Linked DNA regions of Homo sapiens: all the other regions are linked to region 1. Evidence: promoter capture Hi-C in 16 types of primary human blood cells and fetal thymus (Javierre and others, 2016). All regions are on one chromosome and are shown on one strand. Each heading gives the region's core, a stretch centred on a gene start or on the middle of the fragment in contact. The rest is flanking DNA. Distances are from core to core; before and after follow the strand shown. Region 1 holds the start of TMEM141 (transmembrane protein 141). Region 2 overlaps TOR4A (torsin family 4 member A). Region 3 overlaps GRIN1 (glutamate ionotropic receptor NMDA type subunit 1). Region 4 holds the start of SLC34A3 (solute carrier family 34 member 3). Region 5 overlaps ANAPC2 (anaphase promoting complex subunit 2). Region 6 overlaps NELFB (negative elongation factor complex member B). Region 7 holds the start of TMEM203 (transmembrane protein 203).

Region 1 (3,376 bases), core at 214-2,713:
TCAGCCTTTTTTTTTTTTTTGAAACAGAGTCTCACTCTGTCGCCCAGGCTGGAGTGCAGTGGCACGATCTTGGCTCCCTGCAACCTCCACCTCCCAGGTTCAAGTGATTCTCCTGCCTCAGCCTCCCCAGTACCTGGGATTATAGGCACCTGCCACCACGCCCGGCTAATTTTTGTATTTTTAGTAGAGACGGGGTTTCACCATCTTGGCCAGGCTAGTATTTAACTCCTGACCTTGTGATCCACCTGCCTCGGCCTCCCAAGGTGCTGGGATTACAGGCGTAAGCCACCGCACCTGGCCAAGATTTCATCTTTTTACCTCATATTTCTTAGGAATTTAATGGTTATATGTTGTCTTTTTTCCCATGCCTTTTGGCTCAAGCAACACGTATATCAGTGTTGACTTTTTCTTTCTTTGATCTAGTTTAAAAAAAAAAACCACATAATAATTCTTTGAAGAAAGGAAGGGGTTAATTTTTTTCCCTAGCACTTTCTTGAAGATCAGGGACTTTATCGATGAAAAAGTAGTAAATAGTTATTTGTAACCTGTGTGAAGCAGCAGCCTGACTTGAAGTCCTCCGTTCTTGCTAATGGTTACACCAGTGAATACTAGTGGAATTGTTTGGGCTGATTTTAGTTTCTCTTAATCAAAATTACTAGATGATAGAATTCAAGAACTTGTACATGTTATTACTTGGTGTATCGATAATTATTTGAAAGTAAAGACTCTTTGTCATGCAAAACAAAAGGAGTTTGAGGCTCAGCTACTAAGCTGCTGGTTACAGAACCACTTTGCTAAACAGTGATTTTATACATCCCCACTCCGTGGTGGCTTATGAGAAATTCAATCCCTGATTGTAGTCCTCAAGCAAAATAACACTGACAATCATCAGGCCTCTGCAAGTGTGGGAATGAGGCCCGGCCGGGGGGAGGAGCGCACGCTCTCAGCCACGCCCCGCCCGGTGCCCGCCTTCGCCCCGCCCAGTCGTCGCCGGAGGTCACAGGGCCCAAGCTCCTAGAGGCGTGGCCAGGCCCCAGGCCCCACCCCTCTCCCCTGCGCTCTAGCAGGCTCGATCCATGCTCCGCCCCCAATCCAAGGCCCTGGCCCCTCCGCCTGCACCCGGCAGGACCCGCCTCTTAGAACCCGACACCTCCGCCTGCGCAGGCCCGCTCCCCGGTCCTGTCTCTCAGGCCCCGCCCCCAGGTCGCGTCTCCAAAGTCCCGTCTCTCAGGCCCCGCCCCCAGATCACGTCTCCCAGGTCCCGCCCCCTCCGCCTGCTGCCGCGCGGACCCGCCCTCAGGCGCCGTCTCCTAGGCCCCGCCCCCTCCGCCTGTTCCAGCGCGGGCCGGTCCCTAGGCCTCGCCCCCAGATCCGGGCCCTGCCCCTCCGTCCGTAACTGCGCAGGCCTGTCCTCTGGGCCACACCCCCAGGTTCCCGTCCCGCCCTTCCGCCTGCGCCTGCGCAGGCCCGCTCCCCGAGCCCTGCCAACCATGGTGAACTTGGGTCTGTCCCGGGTGGACGACGCCGTGGCTGCCAAGCACCCGGTGAGAAGGCCGGTCTGGGACGCGGGCCTCAAACCCCAGAAGCTGACCTGAGCGAGGCGGGGGGCCGGGGCGTGGGGGTGCCCTCGTCAGGGAAGAGTGGCGGAGGCTGGGGGCACTCTCTTGCTAAGGGGCTCAGGGCGTCCGGGTGGGCATAGGGGAGGTGGGACGTGTCCAAGCGCCCAGGGTCTCACTCCTCCACAGCCAGGGTGTGCCCAGAGGAGGGACAGGAGAGGCGGTGAAGGAAGAGGGCAGGGGATCGAGCCTTCACCCGCCTCTGCCACCCCAGGGACTCGGGGAGTATGCCGCATGCCAGTCACACGCCTTCATGAAGGGCGTTTTCACCTTCGTCACAGGTAGGCTGCGTCCAGGTGTCCTGCGGCTGGGAGAGAACGCACCCTCCCGCCCTGCCCTGACTCCCCAGCAGGGGGCGCCAAGTCACCTGCCCGCAGGTGCTGGGGGCCTGGCAAGGTGGGCCCTGGCTATCCCCGGGTACAGGTTGATGGGGACCTCGGCTCTTTGCAGGCACCGGCATGGCCTTTGGCTTGCAGATGTTCATTCAGAGGAAGTTTCCATACCCTTTGCAGTGGAGCCTCCTAGTGGCCGTGGGTGGGTACTCCAGGGCCCCTGCCTGGGCTCTTTGAGGGGTGGGTTTCTGCTAGGGTTGGGGCTGTGGTTCTGCGTCCCTGACTCTGACATGGAGCCCCAGGTCTCGGCGGGAGCCCCACCTGAGCCCACCCACCACGTCTGTCAGGAAGTAGCCTGTGCCCGGTTCTCTTAGCCTGGGAAGCACAGAGGCCCCAGCCCTCTTCCATTTCCTGCTCCACAGTTGCAGGCTCTGTGGTCAGCTACGGGGTGACGAGAGTGGAGTCGGAGAAATGCAACAACCTCTGGCTCTTCCTGGAGACCGGGCAGCTCCCCAAAGACAGGAGCACAGGTGAGAGAGCCTGGGGGTTAGCGAGAAGTGAATGCCACCTCTCCAGCACCCAGAGTTTTGGGCAGCCAAGCCTGGGTGCACCATGCGATAGGCTAGACAAGGTCCCTCCCTCTGGCCCGGCCTCCTCAGCATGTGACTGCCAGATGGGTTGGAGCTGGGGGTGGGCGCAGTAGACAGATCTTGGAGAGCTCCCTTTGAGGAGAAAGAACCAAGAGGGGCTGGGGTGCCCCTGAGATTGAGAGGAAGGGTGCAGAGTGAAGGGTGTGGCAAGGCCACAGCAGCCACGTGGGCACCCGAGAGGAGTGAGGCTGGACTGAGAAGCCCCGCATTGGACCCAGGCCTGGCCTCCACTGCCCGTTGTCCTTGTTACGGAACCCAGTTTCTGCCATGATAAAATGGGCACAGGGATGCCCAGCCACGATGGATGTGGTTCGAGCTTGTCTCTCTTTGCCTTTTACAGATCAGAGAAGCTAGGAGAGCTCCAGCAGGGGCACAGAGGATTGGGGGCAGGAGGAGTCTGGAACACAGCCTTCATGCCCCCTGACCCCAGGCCGACCCTCCCCACACCCTAGGGTACCCCAGTCGTATCCTCTGTCCGCATGTGTGGCCAGGCCTGACAAACACCTGCAGATGGCTGCTGCCCCAACCTGGGACCTGCCCAGGAGGTTGGAGCAGAAAGGGCTCTCCCTGGGGTGGTGTTTCTCCTCTAGGGTATTGGGATGCATGTTCTGCACTGCCAGCAGAGAGGGTGTGTCTGGGGGCCACCACCTATGGGACACGGGGTCGAAGGGGCCTGTACACTCTGTCATTTCCTTTCTAGCCCCTGCATCTCCAACAAGTCCAAGGTGACAGCTGGTGCTAGGGGCGTGGGGTTAATAAATGGCTTATCCTTCTCTCC
Region 2 (3,322 bases), core at 539-3,038, 490 kb after region 1:
CCAGCTCTGGTCTGGCCTTCGTGTTGGCTTCAAGGTGGTAACAGAGAGAGCTGCAGAGTGGGGGTGTGTTTGCCAGTCCCTGCATGGGTGAATGTTGGGGTGCCCACTGCTCCCCAGGCAGGACCCCCAGGACTGTCAGCTCCCCTTCCCACAGAGCACCCACCTGGAGGTGTCACCTGCCGGCAAGCGTGGGCCATTCATCCACCTGTCAGTCAACAACACCCGCTGAGCATCGGCTTGTATCAAAAGGTCCAGACCTAAGGGGAAATTTTATCTCTTTCTTTCTTTCTTTCTTTTTTTTTTGACACAGAGTTTTGCTCTTGTTGCCCAGGCTGGAGTGCAATGACACGATCTCGGTTCACTGCAACCTCTGCCTCCTGGGTTCAAGCGATTCTCCTGCCTCAGCCTCCCGAGTAGCTGGGATTACAGGCGCCCGCCATCACGCCCGGGTAATTTTTTTGTATTGTTGGTAGAGACGGTGATTCACTATGTTGGCCAGGCTAGTCACGAACTCCTGACCTCGTGATCCGCCCACCTCGGCCTCCCAAAGTGCTGGGATTACAGGTGTGAGCCACCGTGCCCGGCCTCTTTTTATTTATTCCTAAAATATTACCTTGAGGCCAAATTCTGCGCTTAAGGAGAATGTGCACCAAGTGCTGGGGTGGGGGCTGGTAATAAACGAGGCCACAAATCATGCTTGTTAATAAATTGTGTGGTTCAAATCTGACGACCTACTGTTTGGTTTGTTTCTTGTCTGTCTGGTCTGTTAATAATTGAGGAGGATGCTGAAATCTTTCCCTAATTGTAGATTTATGGTAGATTTATCCATTTCTCTCTAAGCTTCTATTTAATAGGACATGCTGATCGAGAGTTTTGTTTTTTGTTTTGTTTTGAGAAACTTCTGAATGGGGAAGTGGTGTGGACCTGGAGGCTGATGGAAGGATTGGGGCTCACATGCAGTCTGCAGCTCAAACATCCGGGCTTTCCAGGAAATCCATAAATAACTAAAGTATTTTCTTTAATTGCCCTGGACAGGTGCTGAGGGCAGATGACCCAGGCTGGACATGCGGGAAGTTGCCAGCTAACCAGATGATCCCAAATGTCATAGCTGCTCTCCCTCATATGTGCAGAAACTGTTTCTGTGCAGTTGTCTCTGAGTTATTCTTTGACATCTGCCATGTGTCATTACGTAGTAACCCTCGTGATCTGTGTGTGCACATCATAATGACTTTTTTTTTTTTTTTTGAGACAAGGTCTCGCTCTGTCACCCAGGCTGGAGTGCAGTGGTGTGATCTCCACTCACTGCAGCCTCCACCTCCTGGGTTCAAGTAATTCTCCTGCCTCAGCCTCCTGAGTAGCTGGAATTACAGACGCCCACCACCACACCCAGCTAATTTTTGTATTTTTAGTAGGGACTCAGTTTCACTATGTTGGCCAGGCTGGTCTCGAACTCCTGACCTCAGGTGATCTACCCATCTCAGCCTCCCAAAATGCTGGCATTACAGTTGTGAGCCAACGTGCCTGGCTTCTCTTTTCTTTTAATAGAGACAGGTTCTCTCTGTCATTCAGGCTGGAATGCAATGGCGTGATTGTGGCTCACTACAGCCTCGACCTCCTGGGCTCAAGCGATTCTCCCACCTCGGCCTTCCAAAGTGCTGGGATTCCAGGCGTGAGCCGCCGCGCCTGGCCATTCTCTGCATTTTTCAAGGTCAGCAACACTGCATCCTTCCGACCACAGCCAGGAAGAGTTTTCTGCTTTTAAAGACCCATGTGACTAGATGTGTCCACCTGGGCCAGGCGCAGTGGCTCACGCCTATAATCCCAGCACTTTGGGAGGCCAAGGCGGGCAGATCACCTGAGGTCAGGAGTTCAAGACCAGCCTGGCCAACATGGTGGAACCCTGTCTCTACTAAAAATACAAAAATCAGTCGGATGTGGTGTCGAGTTCCTGTCATCCCAGCTACTTGGGGGGCTGAGGTAGGAGAATCGCTTGAATCCAGGAGGTGGAGCTTGCAGTGAGCCAAGACCCTGCGACTGCACTCCAGCCTGGACGACAGAGTGAGACTATGTCTCAAAAAAGATAAAATAAATAAGTAAATGTGTCCACCTGGGTAATAACGGATTATCTTCCCATCCAAGGTCCACACTTACCTACATCTGCAAAGTCCCTGAGTCAGTTTTGGTAATTTGTGTCTTTCTTGGAACTTCTAGGAATTTGTCCATTTCATCTAAATTGTCTAATTTTATTGATTTTTTTTTTTTGAGACAGTCTTGCTCTATCGCCCAGGCTGGAGTGCAGTGGCTCGATCTTGGCTCACTGCAACCTCTGCCTCCTGGGTTCAAGGGATTCTCCTGCTGTAGCCTCCCTAGTACCTGGGACTACAGGTGTGTGCCACCATGCCCAGCTAATTTTTTGTTTTGTTTTGTTTTGAGACGGAGTTTCACTCTTGTTGTCTAGGCTGGAGTGCAATGGTGCGATGATCTCGGCTCATTGCAACTTCCACCTCCTGGGTTCAAGCAATTCTCCTGCCTCAGTCTCCCGAGTAGCTGGGATTGCAGGCACGCACCAACATGCTCAGCTAATTTTTGTATTTTTAGTAGAGACAGGGTTATACCATATTGGACAGGCTGGTCTCAAACTCCCCACTTACAGTGATCCTCCAGCCTAGACCTCCCAAAGTGCTGGGATTACAGGCGTGAGCCACCATGCCTGGCCCTAGGCAAACTTTTTGAAATAAAGCTTTTTTTTTTTTTTTTGGTTTGTTTGTTTGAGACAGGGTCTCACTCTGTCACCTAGGCTGGAGGGCAGTGGTGCAATCTCAGCTAGTGGTGCAATCTTGGCTCACTGCAGCCTTAAACTCCCAGGTTCAAGCGATTCTCCTGCCTTGGCCTCCTGAGTAGCTGGGACCAGAGGCGTGTGCCACCATGTCCTGGTAATTTTTGTTTTTTTTTTTTTTTTTGAGACAGAGTCTCGCTCTGTTGCCCAGGCTGGAGTGCAGTGGCGCGATCTCTGCTCACTGCAAGCTCCGCCTCCTGGGTTCATGCCATTCTCCTGCCTCAGCCTCCCAAGTAGCTGGGACTACAGGCGCCCATCACCACGCCTGGCTAGTTTTTTGCATTTTTTTTTTTTGAGATGGAGTCTTGCTCTGTCATCCAGGCTGGAAGTGCAGTGGCGCAATCTTGGCTCACTGCAAGCTCCGCCTCCCGGGTTCTCGCCATTCTGCCTCAGCCTCCTTAGTAGCTGGGATTACAGGCGCCTGCCACCATGACTGGCTAATTTTTTTTTTTGCATTTTTTTAGTAGAGACGGGGTTTCACCATGT
Region 3 (3,697 bases), core at 328-2,827, 370 kb after region 1:
ACTACGAGAGTGCGGCGGAGGCCATCCAGGCCGTGAGAGACAAGTGAGGCGCGGGCGGCCACCCTGGCGGGGCGGGACAGGTGCGGGGAGGGGGAGGGTGGCCTCCACCGGGCAGGAGAGCGTCCGGGCCGGGCACCCCGGAGGGCGCGGGCGTGGGGCTTCCAGGCTGGCAGGACCAAGGCCCCCGTGACTCCGCCTCTGCCGGCAGCAAGCTGCATGCCTTCATCTGGGACTCGGCGGTGCTGGAGTTCGAGGCCTCGCAGAAGTGCGACCTGGTGACGACTGGAGAGCTGTTTTTCCGCTCGGGCTTCGGCATAGGCATGCGCAAAGACAGCCCCTGGAAGCAGAACGTCTCCCTGTCCATCCTCAAGTGAGTGTCCGTGCGCCCGCGTCCCTCCTCCGCCCCTCTCCGCCAGAGGTGGACGCCCTCCCCAGTGCCAGACCACTCCGAGGCCACCACTGATTTCCCACCCAGGCCGGGCGCTGCCCACTCCACGCCGCACCCTACCCCGCAGGCCCCGCCCCGGCCCCGCCCCCAGCTTGCTCCTTCCCGTCCTGGGCCCCGCCTCACTGCAGGCTCACTTGTTCCCACCGCCAGGTCCCACGAGAATGGCTTCATGGAAGACCTGGACAAGACGTGGGTTCGGTATCAGGAATGTGACTCGCGCAGCAACGCCCCTGCGACCCTTACTTTTGAGAACATGGCCGGTGCGTTCTCCTTCATCCATTCTCGGGTGGGTTCTCCGTGGGCTGCGGCCTCCCTGGCCAGCAACTGAGGCTCTGGGTCCCGGCACACAGGGGTCTTCATGCTGGTAGCTGGGGGCATCGTGGCCGGGATCTTCCTGATTTTCATCGAGATTGCCTACAAGCGGCACAAGGATGCTCGCCGGAAGCAGATGCAGCTGGCCTTTGCCGCCGTTAACGTGTGGCGGAAGAACCTGCAGGTAGGGCAGGCCACCCTCCGAGGCCTGGTGCCCAGGGCCCGGCCTGGCCACGGCCCTCCTCCATCCCCGAAGGCCGTGGCACTGGCTCTGGCTCTGGTGGGCAGGACTGGAGCTAGGAGCCATGGCCAGGGGCAGTGGTGAGTGCTCCCAGGGCACGGGGGCAGCACCGGTGGGGGGCTGCCTGCAGGTGGCTGCCCACTGCAAAGCCGGGGCCGAGGGAGGCCACGCACCCTGCTCCAAGCCTCCGCCTGGCCCCTCTGTCTCCAGAGTCGCCCGCCGGTACCCATTCCATAGGAAGGCAATCAGGCAGGGTAAGACAGGGGCCCGCCTGTGTATGGCACGTGAGTCCAAGATGCATTTTGCCCTCCGCCGACCCAAGCCCCTTGACACCCTTCGGAGACCCCCCCCTTTCCTGCTATGTCCTTGTGCTCCGTGACTCTAATCCGAATTGGGCCAGGTCCGGTCCTGCCTGGTGCCCAGGTTGTATCCATGAGAATTTGCCACCAGCAAGGGCAGCCACGGCCCACCTGGGACAGGGTGGGCAGTGGGCCTGTACAGGCCTAAGGGCTCGTGGCCCGCGGTCGAGTTCCGGTTCACTCCGTCTCTTCTCTTTCTCTGGGTGCCGTCCTGGAGCCTGTGTCCTGAGATGAAGCCGACAGTGCGGCCAGGGCTGCTGGGGGATGGGGGTTGCTGGAGGCTCCACACCTCTCATCCGCCCGCTCTTGCTCTTGGCCCCCACAGGTCCCCTGGGGACCTGGCCGCTGCCAGCACTGGCGGGCACAGGCCACCTGGCCATCAGACCTGAGGCCAGAGTCCCGGGAGCTGCCTCTGTCACTCCAATTCCACCTCGACACCTGCCTCCAGCCCTCGGCCCCTTCCTGAATCTTGGTGTGTGCCCCTTGGGGGTCAGTGGCCTCCACGCAGACAGCTGGTGTGGCCTGAGGGGCAACTCCTCCAGTCCTCAGAGGACTCCTCCTCCTCGGGACGCCTGTAAGCCAGGGCCACCCAGGAGCCAGGGAGCCAGGCGGACCTCCCAGGAAGAGCCAGCCGAGAGCCCCCAAGCCCAGCCCCAGCACGAGCAAGGTCAGGCCCGAGACCCCGGGCAGGAGAAGAGGCCACCCTCGAACGTCCGCTGTCGGCCCGTCTGTCCAGCACAGGGAGGCAGGCAGGAGCGAGGGCCCAAGTGGCCGGCCAGGCTGGGCAGCGGCCCATGCAGGAGCAGGCGAGGGCAGGTGTGGCCACCACCCTAGCCATCTAATCACTTATACATATTCATTTTAGGATAGAAAGAGTGGTAGAGCAGAGCCTGACCCTAAAAAGAAAGCCACATTTAGGGCTATCACCTCCACCCTGGCTTCCAGCTTCAAGAGGCGTAGGTCCTCCAAAGACACGGTAAGGGGGAGAGCACCCCAGTCCCGCGTCCGACTCCACCTGCCCTGCCCTGCGTGTGTCTCCCGCCCCATCACCCCGCCCCGGACCCTGGGCTCCTGTGGCCCACTCTGCCCCTGTCTCCCTGTGGCGGCCGCTCTGCCCAGCCCGCCCATGCTGCTCTCTCTCACTCTCTGGACCTTTCTCCCCGGCCCTCCTGGGTCCTCGGCTTTCCCCGTGTGTCTCCGTTAGTCTGCCCGCCCACCTCCCCTGCCATGACCCACACGCCATCTTGAAGCCTGTCATCTCGTTGGTCAGTCAGTCAGCCACACCACCTCTCGGGGCCAGGTCTGGGGCCCTGGGAGCCCAGCGTGGCCCCATCCTGGACTCCTCAGCTGCCGGGAGGCCACACCACTTCTCTGTTATGTCCCCGTTTCTCTCGCCTCTCCCAGAGGGGCCCGCCGCCCTCACTTCGCCCCTGCGACGGCCCTGGAGGGGGTGGCTGTGATGTCCCATCCCGTCCGTCTGTCTGGCCACTGGCCCCGCCCCCCAGACACCTGTCTCACCTGTCTCACCAGAGCCATGCGTGTTGCATCTTCATGTGGTCTCTGTGTGGGCCGGGGGCTGGGGGCCGGGCCTGGGTCCGTCTGGGTGGACGGCTGGGGCCTGGAGTTGGAACTGGCCCCGGCCACAGGGGACTGTCAGGCAGGGAGTGGGGTGGGACCAAAAGGGGTGGCTCCCACCCCAGGCTGAGCGGGGGCCCTGCAGGAGGTGTGGCGGCAGCTCCCAGAGGGTCTGAGAATGGGTAGGGGCGGCCCCACAAGCCCTGGCCTGCAGAGCCCAGGACGACACTGAGGTTCCCAGACAGGGAGGCCTCTGGAAGGGAAACGACCACCTCAGCTCCTGACCCCAGCAACCCCACAAGGCCCACCCCAAAGAGCCAGGCCTTCTGCCCTTTGGAGCCCAGAATCCCCCACCTCCTGCTCGGGGCAGCTTGTCCCTGTAGCGGATATGCACACTCGGACCAGAGGCCCCCAGAGCGAACCCAGCCTTGCTAGAGGCACCCCAGGCCCAGGCACCATGGTGGGGAGGGGCTGCCCAGAGAGGCAGCGGAGACCTCAGCCCCGTGGCCACCCTGCAGTCCAGGGACCAGTCTGGCCCACAGGAAGCCCCCAGCCCATAAGCAGCATCACCAGAGAGAAGCTTACGCCCGGGGGAGGAAGTGCGATTTGCAGCCACCTGCCCCTCAGTGCACTGGAAGCGGGGCAGACCTCCAGGGCACAGACAGGACTTGGCATCAAGCAAGCCAAATCCCGAGATGAAGCCACCAGGGTGCCCCAAGAGGGACCCATGAGGCCTGGCTGCTCAGCTTCCTGGGGAAGGGA
Region 4 (3,670 bases), core at 1,140-3,639, 440 kb after region 1:
ACCCCCACAGACCCAGCGCCTGACCTCTGGGGTGGGCTCCTGGGGCCAGCACCCCATCCAGGCGGAAGGTCCTCGAGGCAGGCTGTCCACCGCTGGCTTCCCTCTGGCAGGATGCTGCAGCCGGAGGGCCCCCAGGCCTCGGAGGAGGGGGGCCCCCGGAGGAGAGGACAGACTGCATCATCTGCTGCTCGGCCTATGACCTCTCCGGGCACCTGCCCCGCCGCCTCTACTGTGGACACACCTTCTGCCAGGCGTGTGTGCGGCGGCTGGACACACCGGCGCCCGAGCAGCGCTGGATCCCCTGTCCGCAGTGCCGTCAGAGCACGCCCACGCCTCGCGGAGGGGTGGCCATGCTAGACCTGGACCTGGCTGCTTTCCTGGCGGTCAAGGCTGAGCGGGAGCCGGCAAGACTAGAACCCCTGCCCCTCACCTCCCTCAAAGGCAGCGCCATCACTCGGCAGCCAGCTGGGCTGTGCCCTGCCCTGGGACCCCAGCCCCACTTCCCCCAGCCCAGATACTGCTGCTGGGGCTGTGGCAGCCTCTGCTGCCCACCCCTAGGCAGCCCCGAGGTCTGAACTCTGGCCATTCCCACCCCTGCAGGGGAAATGCCTGCCTTGGAACCCCTGACCACACACCATCATGGGTTCAGCCCACTCAGAACAACCTGGCAGTAGCATCCTATACGCAGCTTCGTGTGGCCCAGCAGGGTGGTGTCATCCCAGCCGTGAACATCCCAGGCCACAGCCTAAGGTTGGGGGCTGGGAGGCTCCGCAGGAGGCTGGTGACCTCCCACCTGTCCTGGCCACAATTACCAGACCCCAGACTAGCCCGACCGGATGTGCCTGGTGAGGACACTGCTGTCTGAGTGGGCGGCAAGCCTGGCTTGGGCCTAGACGCAGCGCAAAGGATGGCTCCCAAGAGGATGCGAAGGCGTCCCGGGGGCCTGGGCTGCAGGCTGGAGGGGCAGGGCCGGTCTGGCTATGCCTGGCGGGCTGCCCAGAGCAGGTCTCCCCTCTCCCACAGACGTCCCCGGGGTGTACCGGGAGGGTGGCAAGACTACCTCCTTCCTCCCTGCCCTGCATGGCAGCCCTGTGAATTCACCCACTCAACAAAGCTCATGGAGTTCCCACTGTGTGTCGGGTGCGGTTCTGGGAGGGTCTCGTGTAGGCACGAAGCCATACAGGCATTGAAGGGGATGCCTCGGCGGGGCCTGCCTGAGGCCAACAGAGGGCTGGGGCCTGCTTGAGGTCTCACAGCCCAGTTGGTCTCATCCTTCGCTGAACCTTTCCTGGCTCCGAGCAGCCACCACACAGACCCTTTTGAGGGGCCGGGGCTGGGGCTGGGGCCAGACTGTGGACAGCAGTTACCACCAAGTCAGTGCTGCAACACCCCCACCCCCACTGGAACGAGCTGTCACTCAGGAGCCCCAGGGAAGGACTGCTGCCCCCCACCCCCAGAGCAAGGGCGCAGGAGGGAGACGGAAGAGAATTTGCTGAGCGGACACTCAGAAGCTTCTACCTTCTCCAGGGCAAAGTCCCCATGCACACAGCGGGGGCTGGGCAGCAAGCAAAGCAGGGCACCAGCAGCCCCTGGGCAGGGTGAGCCTCTGGGGGAGCTGCCCCGCACCCCAGGGCAGGAAGAGGCCCAGTCCTCCTAGGGGACACCCCACAGGCGGTGGGGCCAGCTGGGACTCCGCTGGGGAGAACTGTGCGCTGGGCCAGGCAGCGGGTGGGGAAGGTGGCCTGGGGAGCTCTGTCCTCCCCTCTGCAGATGGAGGCTGCCGGCCGCCGTCGCTGGCTATACCAGGGCCGAGCCCGCTAGCAGCCTGCTGGGCCCAACCCTGCCCTGAACCCGGATCTGAACCCTCTGACCTCGGGCTGGGTGCCCTCCCCGGCTACGTGAAAAAGCCCGTCCTCCCCCACCACCTGGTGCAAAGGGCTTCCCTCCCCTGCTCTGCCGAGGGCAGGGATGACCCTGAGAAGGTCTGGGGAGCCCTGAGGTGCATGGAAGTGGGGGACTGGCGTCTCTCGACTCCCGGGCAGCCCCAGCCATACTCTAGCATCCTGCCTGGCTGGGTGGAGTGTGTCTCTTGGGTCACACGGATGCCTGCTGAGGATGCCCAGTACCGAGGGCCGGTGCCCCGCCCCGCAGTGCCCTCGGCCTGATTCAGAGCCCACCCCTGGGAGGAGCCCCACTCCAGGAGGGTTGGGCTGGGGCTTGGAGGTCCTAGCCACAGAGTGACAGGATGGAGACAAGGCCTAGGGGCCTTGGGGCCAGGAGGGTACCCCCGTGAGGGCCTGGGCTCCTGGGTAAACATTAATGGGCTCAGTACCCAGCAGGTCATGTGCGCGATCAGGGGATCTTTGACCTGCAACTGCTCCCGCCCCGTGTCTCCTCCCTGCAGGTGCCCCCTCACCACCCACACAGGTAGGAGCTCCTAGGACCAGGCTGAGGCCCAGGGACAGTGAGGCCGAGGCTGGGTGGCCTCCAGGCCAAGGGCTTGGGCCCCATCCTGAGTCTCCAGGACCCAAGGGCAAGAGACGCCAGGCTTGGGCAGCAGGAGGGAGGGTGAGGCACAGGACGCCTGGACCTGAGCCCAGGGCACTAGGTGGAGGGGTCCAGGTGGGGGGCCCCAGGGGTGGGGTGACCAGGCCCAGGAGGCTAAGGCAGCAGCTTCGGGGCCAGGAGCCTTGAAGTGGTGTGAGGACCCCACCTGCTCCCCATCACCAGGGCGTGGGGCCCTTATCAAGCCGAGACGTCACTGTTTAGTATCAAATGCCAAAGTCTAAGTCGGGACCATCCACAGTGTCCCCGATGACACCAGATAGGGGAGGTCCCCAGGTTCCCCAGCTCATGGCCTGCACCCTCGGCACTAGCCTTCCAGTCAGGACCAGCAAGGGAGCCGGGGAGCTGGAGCCCCTTCGAGTCTACCCCTGAAACTGGACTGGGCTCGCCTGACAACTGCCTGAGGTCATTGTAGCCATCCCCCTGTGGATGGAGAAAGGGGGATGGTCACTGAGGCCTGCAGGGCGTAGAGAGGGAGGGTGGCGGCCAAGGGCTCAATTCAGGGGACCCAGGGGTGTGAATCCAGCTTGTGAGGACAGGGCCGGGGCAGGAGGAAATGTCTCTGACACGCGCGTCCCCCCCAGCAGATCTAGACCTGGGCCTGGGTCTGTCCCTGCCCGAAATCCATGCCGAGTTCCCTTCCCGGCAGCCAGGTCCCCCACCCCACTCTGGACGCGGTTGACCTAGTGGAAAAGACTCTGAGGAATGAAGGTACCAGTGGCCCCTGTGCCCCAGGCCTTCACCAGTCTGACCACCCACCCCCCAGGCACTGGGCAGAGACAGGCCAGGTTTCCTGCGGGCCTCCCGGGGAACCCACAGGGCTCATGACGCCTCCACTCAGGTCCAGCCCAGCTGGAGCCCCATCTTCCCCGTTCCGTTTCTGTCCCTCACTCCAGGCCTCTTACGCCTCAGCCCGTCCTCCGGCCTGTGCCCTTGTGCCCCCAGTTGGAGGGAGGTGGTCCTGGAAACAGCCGTACTCAATTCTACCTCCACAGGGACCTCCAGTTCTGCTCCAGTCTTGGAGGAAGGGGACACAGACCCCTGGACCCTCCCTCAGCTGAAGGACACAAGCCAGCCCTGGAAAGGTGGGTCTGGAGGTTCCGGG
Region 5 (3,650 bases), core at 1-2,500, 390 kb after region 1:
GCCTGTCTCCAGGCTCGCCGGGTCGGTCTTGGACAGCTCAACAGCCAGGTCCCCTGTCCCGTCCGAGTCCCCCGTCAGCCCAGCCACAATCTGCCGCACTGTGTCCTCCCGCGTCCTGCCGATGTGAGTGCTGCTGTGGCCCACAGTGTGGACACCCCGCGCGCACCTCCCACCACTCATTCCAGTCCCGGCCCCATCTAGGCCAGCACCACCGACCCTGCCTCTACACTCAGTGGTGATGGGCTATGTACTAAACACAGGCCCGTCAGACTCCTTAAAAACAAATAAACCCAACGTTACTTGGGAGCAGCAGGAGCTGCGAGCGCAAGGCCGGCCTGCGCACCTGCAATCCCAGCACATAGGGACACTAAGCCAGAAGACCTAAGCCCAGGTGTCCGAGGCTGCAGGGAGACAGGATTCTGCCACTGCACTCCAACAGAGCGAGAGCCTGCCTCAAAAAAAAGAAAAAGAAAAAGAAAAAAGGGCCGGGCACGGTGGCTCACGCCTGTAATCCCAGCACTTCAGGAGGCCGAGGCAGGCGGATCACGAGGTCAGGAGATCAAGACTATCCTGGCTAACATGGTGAAACCCCATCTCTATTAAAAATACAAAAAGTTAGCCAGGCTTGGTGGCGGCCTGTAGTCTCAGTTACTCGGGAGGCTGAGGCAGGAGAATGGCGTGAACCCGGGAGGCGGAGCTTGCAGTGAGCAGAGATCGTGCCACTGCACTCCAGCCTGGGCGAAAGAGTGAGACTCCATCTCAAAAAAAAAAGAAAAAACAAAGAACTGGCTCAGAAGCCAGGCCAGTTACAGCCACAAAGCACCAAAGGAGTCCAGGTAGGGGCCAGACTCCACCGGCTCCTGCTGCTCGGCTCCTGGGGGCCACTGTGCCTGCCAGCCCCGGGCCAGGGCCTCTGCGACCCCTGAGGAATTCCCAGGCAGCCATGTCAAGGTCCTCATCCCAACACATTCTCCACCGAACAGCCCCAGGAGTGTCTGTTCCTTGCCGTGGGAAAGGCCAGGACAGCAGAGCCCACTCCCCTTGCCTGGTCGGCCTTGGGGACTGGTCAGCACCAAGGCGAGGCCAAGTGGAAGAGCTTCTCTCTGTGCTGGAGATGGGGAGGCTGAGGAAGGGCTGTGGTGGGCCTCTGGCAGCTGCACACAGAGGGCACGGTGACACCGTGTGACAAGGACAGGTGCCCGGCACGGGCAAGAGGAAAGGAAAGAGCCTCGGGCCTGATCCCGTGCACTCAGCCCAGCCGGGGGAGACCTTGTGTCCTGACGGCCGAACACACCCTCCGGCTGCCCCCCAGGACCACGAGGAGCTCAGCAGGATGCCCAGGGTCCCAGTGGCTCCTGGGCCAGCTGCAGCCCTCACCTCAGGTAGCGGCGGATAGGCTCACAGGCCACCTCCAGGATGACCATGGAAGGGTCCAGCACGCGCAGCGCCTTGATGGCAGAGATATAGAGGGTGATGATGTCACACGTGTTGACGCCTACAGCCAGGGCAGAAGCCAGCAGTCATGCAGTGCCCGGGACCACAGCCTCCCAGGGGCAACACCCGAGTAGACAGCTGGCCATGCCGGTAGGTGGTCTACAGGTCCCCACTGCAGCCTCGTTCCCTTGTCCCCCCATCCCCACCTCTACCTGTTCACAGGTCCCGCCCTGCAGGGAGGTCTGTTCTGAGAGAACTAAGTCTCATCACCTCAGACCTACCGGTCAGTCCTGACTCCCTCCAAAGAAGAAACAAGCAAGCTGACGGGCACCTCAGATCCCCTAAGGACCTCACCAATTGCTTCTCAACCCATTTCTTCCTTAGACCTACAAGTCCAGGGCTGGCAGACTAGGCCCCAGGCTCCCTGGACATGGGTCCCCTGGTGAGTGTCTAAGCCCAGAGTGCTGGGTGGCCGGGCAGCACACAGCACCTGGATGCAGGAGCCGAGTCTCCAGGGCAGCCTTGAGGGACACGAGCAGCTGCTGCCTCTGGTCCGTCCTCTCCAGGCAGTACTTGAGGTCCTCGATGGCTGGCCGGGAGTCTGGGAAGTCTACAAGAAGAAGAACATCCCTCAGGGACAGACATGGATGCGTGCGCACGTGCAGGCTGGTGCAGAGTGTGTGCGGTGTGGGAAAGGACACGTGCTTGCCAGCCCCAGGACGATGATGAGACCACCTGCTAGGCACCAGACATCCCCCCGACACTCTGGCGTGCTGATGCATTTGACCACAATGCCACAGGGTGGACAGAGCAACACCCAGGGGCCAGTCCCCAGCAGGAGCCAAGGCCAAGGCAGCACAGCAGTGGACACCCAGAAGCACTGTCCAGCATCTGCCACACCTGCCCTGATCCAGGCACGGGGGACGCCGCAGTGGGGACAGTCCCAGCACTGCCCGGTGCACCCCCCTGCAAGAGCGACAGCGAAGGCACAGGGAGCCCCAGACGTGGACACAGGGAGCCCAGATGCAGACACAGAGCCGACATGGCGAAGGCCCTGGGAGCCCCAGATGCAGACACAGAGCAGACACGGCGAAGGCACAGGGAGCCCAGACGCAGACACAAGGAGCCCAGACACAGACACAGAGCAGACACGACGAAGGCCCTGGGAGCCCCAGATGCAGACAAAGAGCAGACACGGTGAAGGCACGGGGAGCCCAGACGCAGACACAGGGAGCCCAGACGCAGACACAGAGCAGACACGGTGAAGGCACAGGGAGCCCAAGACGCAGACACAGAGCAGACACGGCGAAGGCACAGGGAGCCCAGATGCAGACACAGAGCAGACACAGCGAAGGCCCTGGGAGCCCCAGACGCAGACACAGGGAGCCCAGACGCAGACAGAGCAGACACGGCGAAGGCCCTGGGAGCCCCAGACGCAGACAGAGCAGACACGGTGAAGGCACAGGGAGCCCAGACGCAGACACAGGGAGCCCAGACGCAGACACAGAGCAGACACGGCGAAGGCACAGGGAGCCCAAGACGCAGACACAGGGAGCCCAGACGCAGACACAGAGCAGACACGGCAAAGGCCCTGGGAGCCCCAGACGCAGACACAGAGCAGACACGGTGAAGGCACAGGGAGCCCAGATGCAGACACAGAGGAGACACGGGGAAGGCCCTGGGAAGACTCCCCAGACGGGAGAGCGGACCCCAGGGCCGGGGCAGGACCACCTCGGACGATGCTGAAGAGCTCCTCGATGCGCAGGCTGGCGTAGATGCGGTAGAAGAACCTTTGCACGTGGCAGCGCCAGCGGCGCAGGGTGTTGCCGGCCTCGGGAGATGCGGGCCTGGCGGGGCCGTCCTGCAGGAACACCTTGCCGAGCCAGCCGACCACCCGCTCGATCCACTGTCAGGAGAACGCTAGTGTGAGCTGCAGGGAGGCATGGTGAGCCCCGGGCTGACTCAGAGGCTGGGAGGAGCCTCACGGCCACCCACCCTGTCGGCCGGGACCGAGGGGAGCCCGAAGGCCACCTGCGTCTGGAGGCTGGAGCACATCAAAACCTGCAGGGTGGGTGATGGCCCAAAAGGCGACGTCCCGGCCCCCCTGCAGTCTTCGTGCCTCTCACACGCGCCAGTGCCCACACTTATCACTGGCAGCAGCAACCCTAGCGTGAGACATGACAGACACACACGACCTGTGCGCTGTGCCTGGTGGG
Region 6 (3,650 bases), core at 233-2,732, 480 kb after region 1:
TTTTTTAACTTTTTAATTTGAAAAATCTTTGAATAGGTTAAGGACAAATTGCAAACCTTAAGCTTTTTTTTTTTTTTTTTTTGAGACAGAGTCTCGCTCTCTTGCCCAGGCTGGAGTGCAGTGACGCGATCCTGGCTCACTGCAAGCTCTGCCTCCCGGGTTCAAGTGATTCTCCTGCCTCAGCCTCCCGAGTAGCTGGGACCACAGGCGACCACCACCACGCCCGGCTAATTTTTTGTATTTTTGGTAGAGACAGGGTTTCACTTTGTTAGCCAGGCTGGTCTCAGTCTCCTGACCTGGTGATCCATCCGCCTCGGCCTGCCAAAGTGCTGGGATGACAGGCTGAGCCGCCGCGCCCGGCCTGCCAAAGTGCTGGGATGACAGGCTGAGCCGCCGCGCTCGGCCATCCTTAAGCTTTTTGTAAGAAACCCAGCATGTGATGGGCACCCGCTGCCAGTCCTGAATTCAGCCTAGGCCACCCCTCCTGAGGACTGTGCCGCTGAAGGGAGGGGCAACAGGCGTCGCATTAATGCCAGGGCGGCCTCCTTCCAGGGACCTGTCCATGATCCTGTGTGACCCCTTCGCCATCAACACGCTGGCACTGAGCACAGTCAGGCACCTGCAGGAGCTGGTCGGCCAGGAGACACTGCCCAGGGTGAGTGTGGGCTTGGCCAGCAGCTGTCGGGGCCATGCGGCCACTCCGCTGGCTGCTCTGGGTGGTCAGGGTGTGGACAGCAGCGGCCAGGTGGAGGCAGCTGTTGGGGCCCTGTGGCCGCCCTGCTGGCTGCTCTGGTGGTCGGGGATGTGGACTGCAGTGGCCCAGGTAGAGGCGTGTGCTTCCCCGCTGTGAGACTGCGTTTCACCCCGTGTGTGGGGCTGGTGATCGCAGTCGTGTGGTCCTGGCCATGGGCACCAGAGATCCTGCTGAGTAACGAGTAGGGTCAGAGGAGCTCCATGGCCAGGACACAGCTGCCTGGGAGAGGCGCTGAGCCCGTCCTCCCTACAGGACAGCCCCGACCTCCTGCTGCTGCTCCGGCTGCTGGCGCTGGGCCAGGGAGCCTGGGACATGATCGACAGCCAGGTCTTCAAGGAGCCCAAGATGGTAACGAGCCTCCTGTGGGGGCTGCCAGTTTCCTACGAGGGGTTGTGGGCTGGAAGTGGGGTGGAGGGGGAGGCGCTAGCAAGGTGATTGTGGAGGCCCCTTTGGTCCCAAAGCTTCCTTCCTGGAGCTGCCCACCTTCCTTTTGGGAAAATGCCCACCAGGGAGGTTCTGGGGTGTCTCCGTGGACCCTGGCTGGTTCTGGGGTATCTCCATGGCCCGTGGCTGGTTCTGGGGTGTCTCCGTGGACCGTGGCTTGTTCTGGGGGTGTCTCCATGGACCATGGCTGGCCACAGGTGGTGACTACTCCATGTGGGTCCAGACCTAGAAGGGGGTTTGAGGAGATGGCCTGGGTGGGGGACTCGGGAGGTGGGAAGAGGGACCTGGGGACCTGGAGAGGAGGGAGGGTCGGTGAGGTATCTGGGGGAGTGGGAGGGCCAGGGGCAGGGTGTGTGTCACGTCAGGGTGGGGTGGGGCAGGGCCCGGGCCCGCGCCCGCTCATGGCCTCCCCTCCTCGTAGGAGGTAGAGCTCATCACCAGGTTCCTCCCGATGCTCATGTCCTTCCTGGTGGATGACTACACTTTCAATGTGGATCAGAAACTTCCGGCTGAGGAGAAAGCCCCAGTCTCATATCCAAACACACTTCCCGAAAGCTTCACTAAGTACGGGCTGTAGGGCCATGGTGCAGGGGTGGCCGTGGCGCAGGGATGGCACTGTTGCCCAGGGGGCTGCCTCAGGGCTGGGCAGGGGTCGGTGTGGGGCTGAGGTGGGGCTGAGGTGGGGCTGAGGTGGGGCTGATGGCGCCCCGGGCGCAGGTTTCTGCAGGAGCAGCGCATGGCCTGCGAGGTGGGGCTGTACTACGTCCTGCACATCACCAAGCAGAGGAACAAGAACGCGCTCCTCCGCCTGCTGCCCGGGCTGGGTAAGTCCTGACGGGCGGTGCCTGGCTGTGTCTTCCCTGCGGCAGCTGCCGTATGCAGTCCTGCCCAGGGTGCGGGCCCCAGGGCCCCCAGGAGCTGCCTTGTCTCCCCAGCCCACCTCCAACTTTGCTAGCTTTGTTTTCACCTTTTTTTTTTTTTTTTTTTTGAGATGGAGTCTTGCTCTGTCGCCCAGGCTGGAGTGCAGTGGTGCAACCTCAGCTCACTGCAGCCTCTGCCTCCTAGGTTCAAGTGATTTCTCGTGCCTCACCCTCCTGAGTAGCTGGGATTACAGGCGCGTGCCACCGTGCCAGGCTAATTTTTGTATTTTTAGTAGAGACGGGGTTTCTCCATGTTGGTTGGGCTGGTCTCGAACTCCTGACTTCATGATCCGCCCGCCTCGGCCTCCCAAAGTGTTGGGATGACAGGTGTGAGCCACCACTCCCAGCCTCGTTTTCACTTTTACTTTTGTTTGTAGTTTATTTTACTAGGAAAGGGAGAGGGAGTTCAACTTTGTGCTTTCCCACAAAAAGGTGATGTAAGAGCTGTCTTTATTTCATCCTAACTGGCGAGGGGCTTGGGACCCCTCAGGTGCTCAGAGAATGGAGCAAAGGGGAGGGAGAGAGATCCCCTGCCCCAGTGCCCCACCCCAGGTGGTGACAGGCCCACTTCCTCCTGGGGGCCTTGACGGGGGAGGGGTTGTTGCAAGCCAGGAAGAAGAGGAAGGGTCCAAATGGGCACCTTCAAGAGTAGAGCTGCAGGTCCCCTGGGAGATGGGGCCTCTTTAGCCTGCTGTGGGTCCCATGGGAGATGGGGCCTCTTTAGCCTTGCGGTACCCACTGTGACACAGACCCTGGGCTCTTCCTTGCTGACTCAGGCCTTGTCTGGGGTTTGCTGTCTTAGTCCACGTTATGCTGCTCTAACAGAGACTTGAGACTGAGTAGTGTAGAAAGGGCAGGGACGGCCGGGCACGGTGGCTCAGGCCTGTAATCCCAGTGCTTTGGGAGGCTGAGGCGGGCGGATCACGAGGTCAGGAGTTCGAGACCAGTCTGGCCAACATGGTGAAACCCTGTCTCTACTAAAAAAATACAAAAATTGGTTGGGCATGGTGGTGGGTGCCTGTAATCTCAGCTACTTGGGAGGCTGAAGCAGGAGAATCCCTTGAACCTGGGAGGTGGAGGTTGCAGTGAGTGGAGATTGCACTATTGCACTCCAGCCCAGGCGACAGAGCGAGACTCCGTCTCAAAAAAACAAAGAGCAGGGACTTCTCCCAGTTCTGCGGGCTGGGATGGGAAGTCCGAGGTCAAGGGGCCTGCATCTGGCTGGGGCTTTTTGCTGTGTCATCCCATGGTGGAAGGCAGAGGGCAAGAGAGCACGGGCAGGGGAGACAGACAGACACAGACAGAGATGAGAGACAGAGACACACAGACCAAGATGAGAGACAAAGATGAGAGACACAGAGACAGAGATGAGACACAGAGAGATGAGAGACAGGTAAGAGAGACAGAGACAGGAGAGACATGGAGACAGACAGATGAGAGACACAGGACAGAGACAGATGAGAGACAGAGCTAGAGATGAGACACAGACAGACGGAGACAGAGAAGGGGCCACACTTACCCTTTTATCAGGA
Region 7 (3,310 bases), core at 6-2,505, 410 kb after region 1:
TAACCAGACAGGACTCTAATCGTGCTCTTATTCAACATTCTTCTGTCTCTGCCTAGACTGGAATAAAAAGCCAATCTCTCTCGTGGCACAGGGAAGGAGATACAAGCTCGTTTACATGTGATAGATCTAACAAAGGCATCTACCGAAGTCTGGTCTGGATAGACGGCACAGGGAGCTCTTAGGTCAGCGCTGCTGGTTGGAGGACATTCCTGAGTCCAGCTTTGCAGCCTTTGTGCAACAGTACTTTCCCAGGATCCACAGGAAATACTCAGAGTCCACCTGGACATTTTACTTATATTCAGTTTCCAAGTGTCAGAGGGGTTCAGGACTGTCTGGCCTGGGGGGCCTCCTCATGACCTCAATTCAGGATTATCTACTCAAAGCATTAAACAAAAGGAAATACATTTTCAGGATGAAGGCTGCTCTTTTAAGCCCTGCTGAAGAAACCATTTCAAACAGGATTGGAATAGGGAAACCCGGCACTCAGCTCGGCGCAAGCCGGCGGTGCCTTCAGACTAGAGAGCCTCTCCTCCGGTGCGCTGCAAGTAGGGCCTCGGCTCGAGGTCAACATTCTAGTTGTCCAGCGCTCCCTCTCCGGCACCTCGGTGAGGCTAGTTGACCCGACAGGCGCGGATCATGAGCAGCTGCAGGAGAATGAAGAGCGGGGACGTAATGAGGCCGAACCAGAGCTCCCGAGTCTGCTCCGCCAGCTTCTGGCACAACAGCATCTCGAAGACGAACTTGAGACTCAGGACCGTAAGTACCCAGAAAAGGCGGAGCACCGCCAGCCGCTTCTCTCCATCCTGGAAGAGGCGCACGGACACGATGGTGGTGAAGTAGGTGCTGAGCCCGTCAGCGGCGAAGAAAGGCACGAACACGTTCCACCAGGAGAGGCCCGGGACCAGGCCATCCACACGCAGTGCCAGCAGCACAGAGAACACCAACAGGGCCAGCAGGTGCACGAAGATCTCGAAGGTGGCGAAGCCTAGCCACTGCACCAGCTCCCGGAGCGAGAAGAGCATCGCGCCCGTTGAGCGCGGGCCGGGGCCCGGCCGAGCGTGCCACCCGCGGGGCTGCGTCTCCTCTCCCCGTGGCCCTCGCCCGCGCCTGCCGCCGCTGCTGCGAGCGAGAGGCAGCGAGCGGCCCCGCCAGCCCCAGCCCTCGGCCCTGATGCGCCGGCAATCCCCCGGCCCCGACCCGGGACTCAACCCTGGCCGCCCGTGAACGCCCGCCTCGATCGGACGCCATGCCCCCACAGGGCGCGTCCCTAGTGCGTCACTTCCGGTCGACGGCGGAAGGCGGAAGGCGGAGCGGTCCCTGCAACCCGGCCGGCGGGAACTGCCTTCTAGTTTTTAGTCTCAGACCAGACCACCGGGCGCACCCCGATGCCGAGCCCGCAGCTTCTGGTGCTCTTCGGCAGCCAGACAGGCACGGCTCAGGATGTGTCGGAGAGACTGGGTCGCGAGGCCCGGCGCCGGCGGCTTGGCTGCCGGGTGCAGGCCCTGGACTCCTACCCGGTGGTGAGGGCTCGCTAGGGCCTCGGCGTGGGGGACGAGCAGGCCTGGCGTGCCCGCCTCGCGGGGTCATCGACCCAAAAGGCGTCGCATTTTCTCTGAGAGCGGGTCTTTCCCTTATGGCGGATTTAGGGAAGGAGGTTTGGGAAGGGGAGTTCAGTTTAGCACCTGGAGGAGGTTGGAACCTGAAAGAGAAGACGGTCTGGCTGCTCACATAAATCCCTCTGCCCTGTCAGCCTGAGTAAAGGAGAAGGGGGTCAAGTTTTGGGAAGGACGCCCGGTCCTTACAGCCGGAGGTCTTACGTGTGTGTGTCTTTTTGTTGAGGTGAATCTGATTAACGAGCCCCTGGTGATATTTGTTTGTGCAACTACAGGCCAAGGAGACCCCCCTGACAACATGAAGGTAAGGCTGGCCTGATGTGGCTCCTCAGATCCCTGCCCTCGACCCTCACCCCGTTTTCATTGCCTGGCGTCTAGGTGCAGTAAATAGCTCTCCTTTATCTCATGCACCTTCAGAGGTGGATTTGAGAGAACGTCCGTGAGTGGGGCTGGGGGCTCCGGTTGCCCTCTCTAATAAACTCGTCGTAGCCACCAAATAGCCTTATTATCCGTTTTAACCTTTCTTATTTTTCCAGGGCTATCTATATGTGCATCTAGTCTGGGTCTTGTGTGTATTTCTAGACTGTATGACCCTCAGGGAACGTTGCTGAATTCTCTGACCATCTTTTAAGCACATATTCTATTCTTGGCACAGTCTGGTGCTGGGGATCCAGCTGTGAACCCAGCAGCCATATTTCCATCCTGGCAGAGTTCACACTGTAGCAGAAGCAGCTAACGGGCAATGACAGTGCCAGCAAACACCTGCTGCTGGGGAAAGTAGCATATGTCACAGGAGCACTGATAAGGGGCATCGAGCCTTATCTCACCCAACCTTGGGGCCCAGGCAGAGGTTTCTGGAAGAAAAGAGTGTAAGCTGAGTCACGGAAGGATGCGTGAGGGCTAGTCAGGCACCGAGGAAGAAGGAGCAGTCAGCGCAGAGGAAAAAGATGATTTGGTTTGTGTGAAAAGTGGAAAGCAGCTCAGGGTGGCCAAGCTGAGGAGTACACTGGGGCAAGAGGGGAGGAGAAGAGAGGCAGGAAGCCAGGCCCAGTCCAAAGAGCCTGAGTAACCACAGCAAGGCAGATGGGCTTGAAATGAAGGGTTGTCGGAACTGTAGGGGTGACACAGTCATGTTCCTAAGCTAGCAAAACCGCACTGGTCTGCAGGACAGCAGGAATAATGCCATGAGATGCACAGGACAGGCAGCAGATGCTACCGATCTGAGCTGAAGTGGTGGCAGAAGATAGAAGTGGACACATTGCAGTGGTGTCAGGAAGAGAGAGTCCCCGGGACATGGAACGGACCCAATAGGTCAAGCAGAATCGAGACAGGGATGTGGGCTCTGGAACCAAGATGGATGGTGGTTCCATCCACAGAAATCAGAGAACACGGTGGGAGTAGGGGGCTGTGCAGGAAGGGAACCTGGAGACATTGAAGTGGAGAAGTGCAGTAGGACTAGCGCTCCAAGGAAGATCCTGGGGCGGAGATAGGTGTTGAGGTAGCCACAATACAGAAGTGTGAGAAGAGGAAGCTCCTCTCTCCCCACAGGACAGGCTGCCCAGAACGTTAGAGCCCAGGAGGGCAGGAGAGTGACCAAGCAGCTAGAAGAGAGGGTGCAGCACCCCAAGGAGAGGACTGGGGGAGTGAGTGTTCCAGGAAGGGCTCTGGCATGTAAAGCTGCACAGAAGTCAAATCAG

The links. The method cuts DNA at HindIII sites, captures the fragments that hold promoters and counts their contacts. A CHiCAGO score of 5 or more calls a contact.
Region 2: a contact is called between a fragment that was not itself captured here and the fragment with the promoter of TMEM141 in region 1, in 1 of 17 cell types (erythroblasts). The highest score is 6.3, in erythroblasts.
Region 3: a contact is called between a fragment that was not itself captured here and the fragment with the promoter of TMEM141 in region 1, in 2 of 17 cell types (endothelial precursors and erythroblasts). The highest score is 5.8, in endothelial precursors.
Region 4: the fragment with the promoter of SLC34A3 here is called in contact with the fragment with the promoter of TMEM141 in region 1 in 11 of 17 cell types (total CD4 T cells, naive B cells, erythroblasts and 8 more); the score reaches 9.1 in total CD4 T cells.
Region 5: a contact is called between a fragment that was not itself captured here and the fragment with the promoter of TMEM141 in region 1, in 4 of 17 cell types (naive CD4 T cells, naive CD8 T cells, total CD8 T cells and 1 more). The highest score is 7.8, in naive CD4 T cells.
Region 6: a fragment that was not itself captured here is called in contact with the fragment with the promoter of TMEM141 in region 1 in 1 of 17 cell types (erythroblasts); the score reaches 5.5 in erythroblasts.
Region 7: a contact is called between the fragment with the promoter of TMEM203 here and the fragment with the promoter of TMEM141 in region 1, in 1 of 17 cell types (total CD8 T cells). The highest score is 6.6, in total CD8 T cells.

What each region holds. Positions count from the first base shown.
Region 1 is chr9:136,789,881-136,793,256 of GRCh38, forward strand. It overlaps TMEM141 (transmembrane protein 141), which reads left to right and starts at 1,464. Exons shown (of 5, transcript NM_032928.4): 1 at 1,464-1,544; 2 at 1,831-1,897; 3 at 2,067-2,150; 4 at 2,371-2,478; 5 at 2,939-3,376. The coding sequence starts at 1,491. The coding sequence ends at 2,952. RefSeq lists a silencer at 851-1,890. The HindIII fragment of the contact is 4,968 bases long and covers 1-3,376 here.
Region 2 is chr9:137,281,915-137,285,236 of GRCh38, forward strand. It overlaps TOR4A (torsin family 4 member A), which reads left to right. Exons shown (of 2, transcript NM_017723.3): 2 at 1-727. Among named protein-coding and RNA genes, the nearest start is that of TOR4A, 5.8 kb to the left of the region's middle. The HindIII fragment of the contact is 1,900 bases long and covers 839-2,738 here.
Region 3 is chr9:137,162,961-137,166,657 of GRCh38, forward strand. It overlaps GRIN1 (glutamate ionotropic receptor NMDA type subunit 1), which reads left to right. Exons shown (of 20, transcript NM_007327.4): 15 at 1-43; 16 at 209-370; 17 at 599-708; 18 at 799-944; 19 at 2,226-2,336. Among named protein-coding and RNA genes, the nearest start is that of MIR3621, 4.5 kb to the right of the region's middle. RefSeq lists an enhancer at 1-326. The HindIII fragment of the contact is 3,872 bases long and covers 1-3,513 here.
Region 4 is chr9:137,228,512-137,232,181 of GRCh38, forward strand. It overlaps SLC34A3 (solute carrier family 34 member 3), which reads left to right and starts at 2,390. Exons shown (of 13, transcript NM_001177316.2): 1 at 2,390-2,427; 2 at 3,153-3,276; 3 at 3,561-3,650. The coding sequence starts at 3,192. RNF224 (ring finger protein 224) reads left to right here. Exons shown (of 3, transcript NM_001190228.2): 3 at 111-1,129. The coding sequence ends at 575. RefSeq lists an enhancer at 1,187-1,687. The HindIII fragment of the contact is 19,638 bases long and covers 1,510-3,670 here.
Region 5 is chr9:137,181,748-137,185,397 of GRCh38, forward strand. It overlaps ANAPC2 (anaphase promoting complex subunit 2), which reads right to left. Exons shown (of 13, transcript NM_013366.4): 4 at 3,166-3,340; 5 at 1,925-2,044; 6 at 1,378-1,495; 7 at 1-115. Among named protein-coding and RNA genes, the nearest start is that of ANAPC2, 5.0 kb to the right of the region's middle. The HindIII fragment of the contact is 8,215 bases long and covers 1-3,650 here.
Region 6 is chr9:137,265,325-137,268,974 of GRCh38, forward strand. NELFB (negative elongation factor complex member B) reads left to right here. Exons shown (of 13, transcript NM_015456.5): 7 at 553-655; 8 at 1,007-1,102; 9 at 1,620-1,762; 10 at 1,916-2,022. Among named protein-coding and RNA genes, the nearest start is that of TOR4A, 11 kb to the right of the region's middle. The HindIII fragment of the contact is 538 bases long and covers 1,214-1,751 here.
Region 7 is chr9:137,204,393-137,207,702 of GRCh38, forward strand. TMEM203 (transmembrane protein 203) reads right to left here and starts at 1,256. Exons shown (of 1, transcript NM_053045.2): 1 at 1-1,256. The coding sequence starts at 1,022. The coding sequence ends at 612. It overlaps NDOR1 (NADPH dependent diflavin oxidoreductase 1), which reads left to right and starts at 1,308. Exons shown (of 14, transcript NM_014434.4): 1 at 1,308-1,520; 2 at 1,840-1,917. The coding sequence starts at 1,386. RefSeq lists a silencer at 1,012-1,271. The HindIII fragment of the contact is 6,239 bases long and covers 1-3,310 here.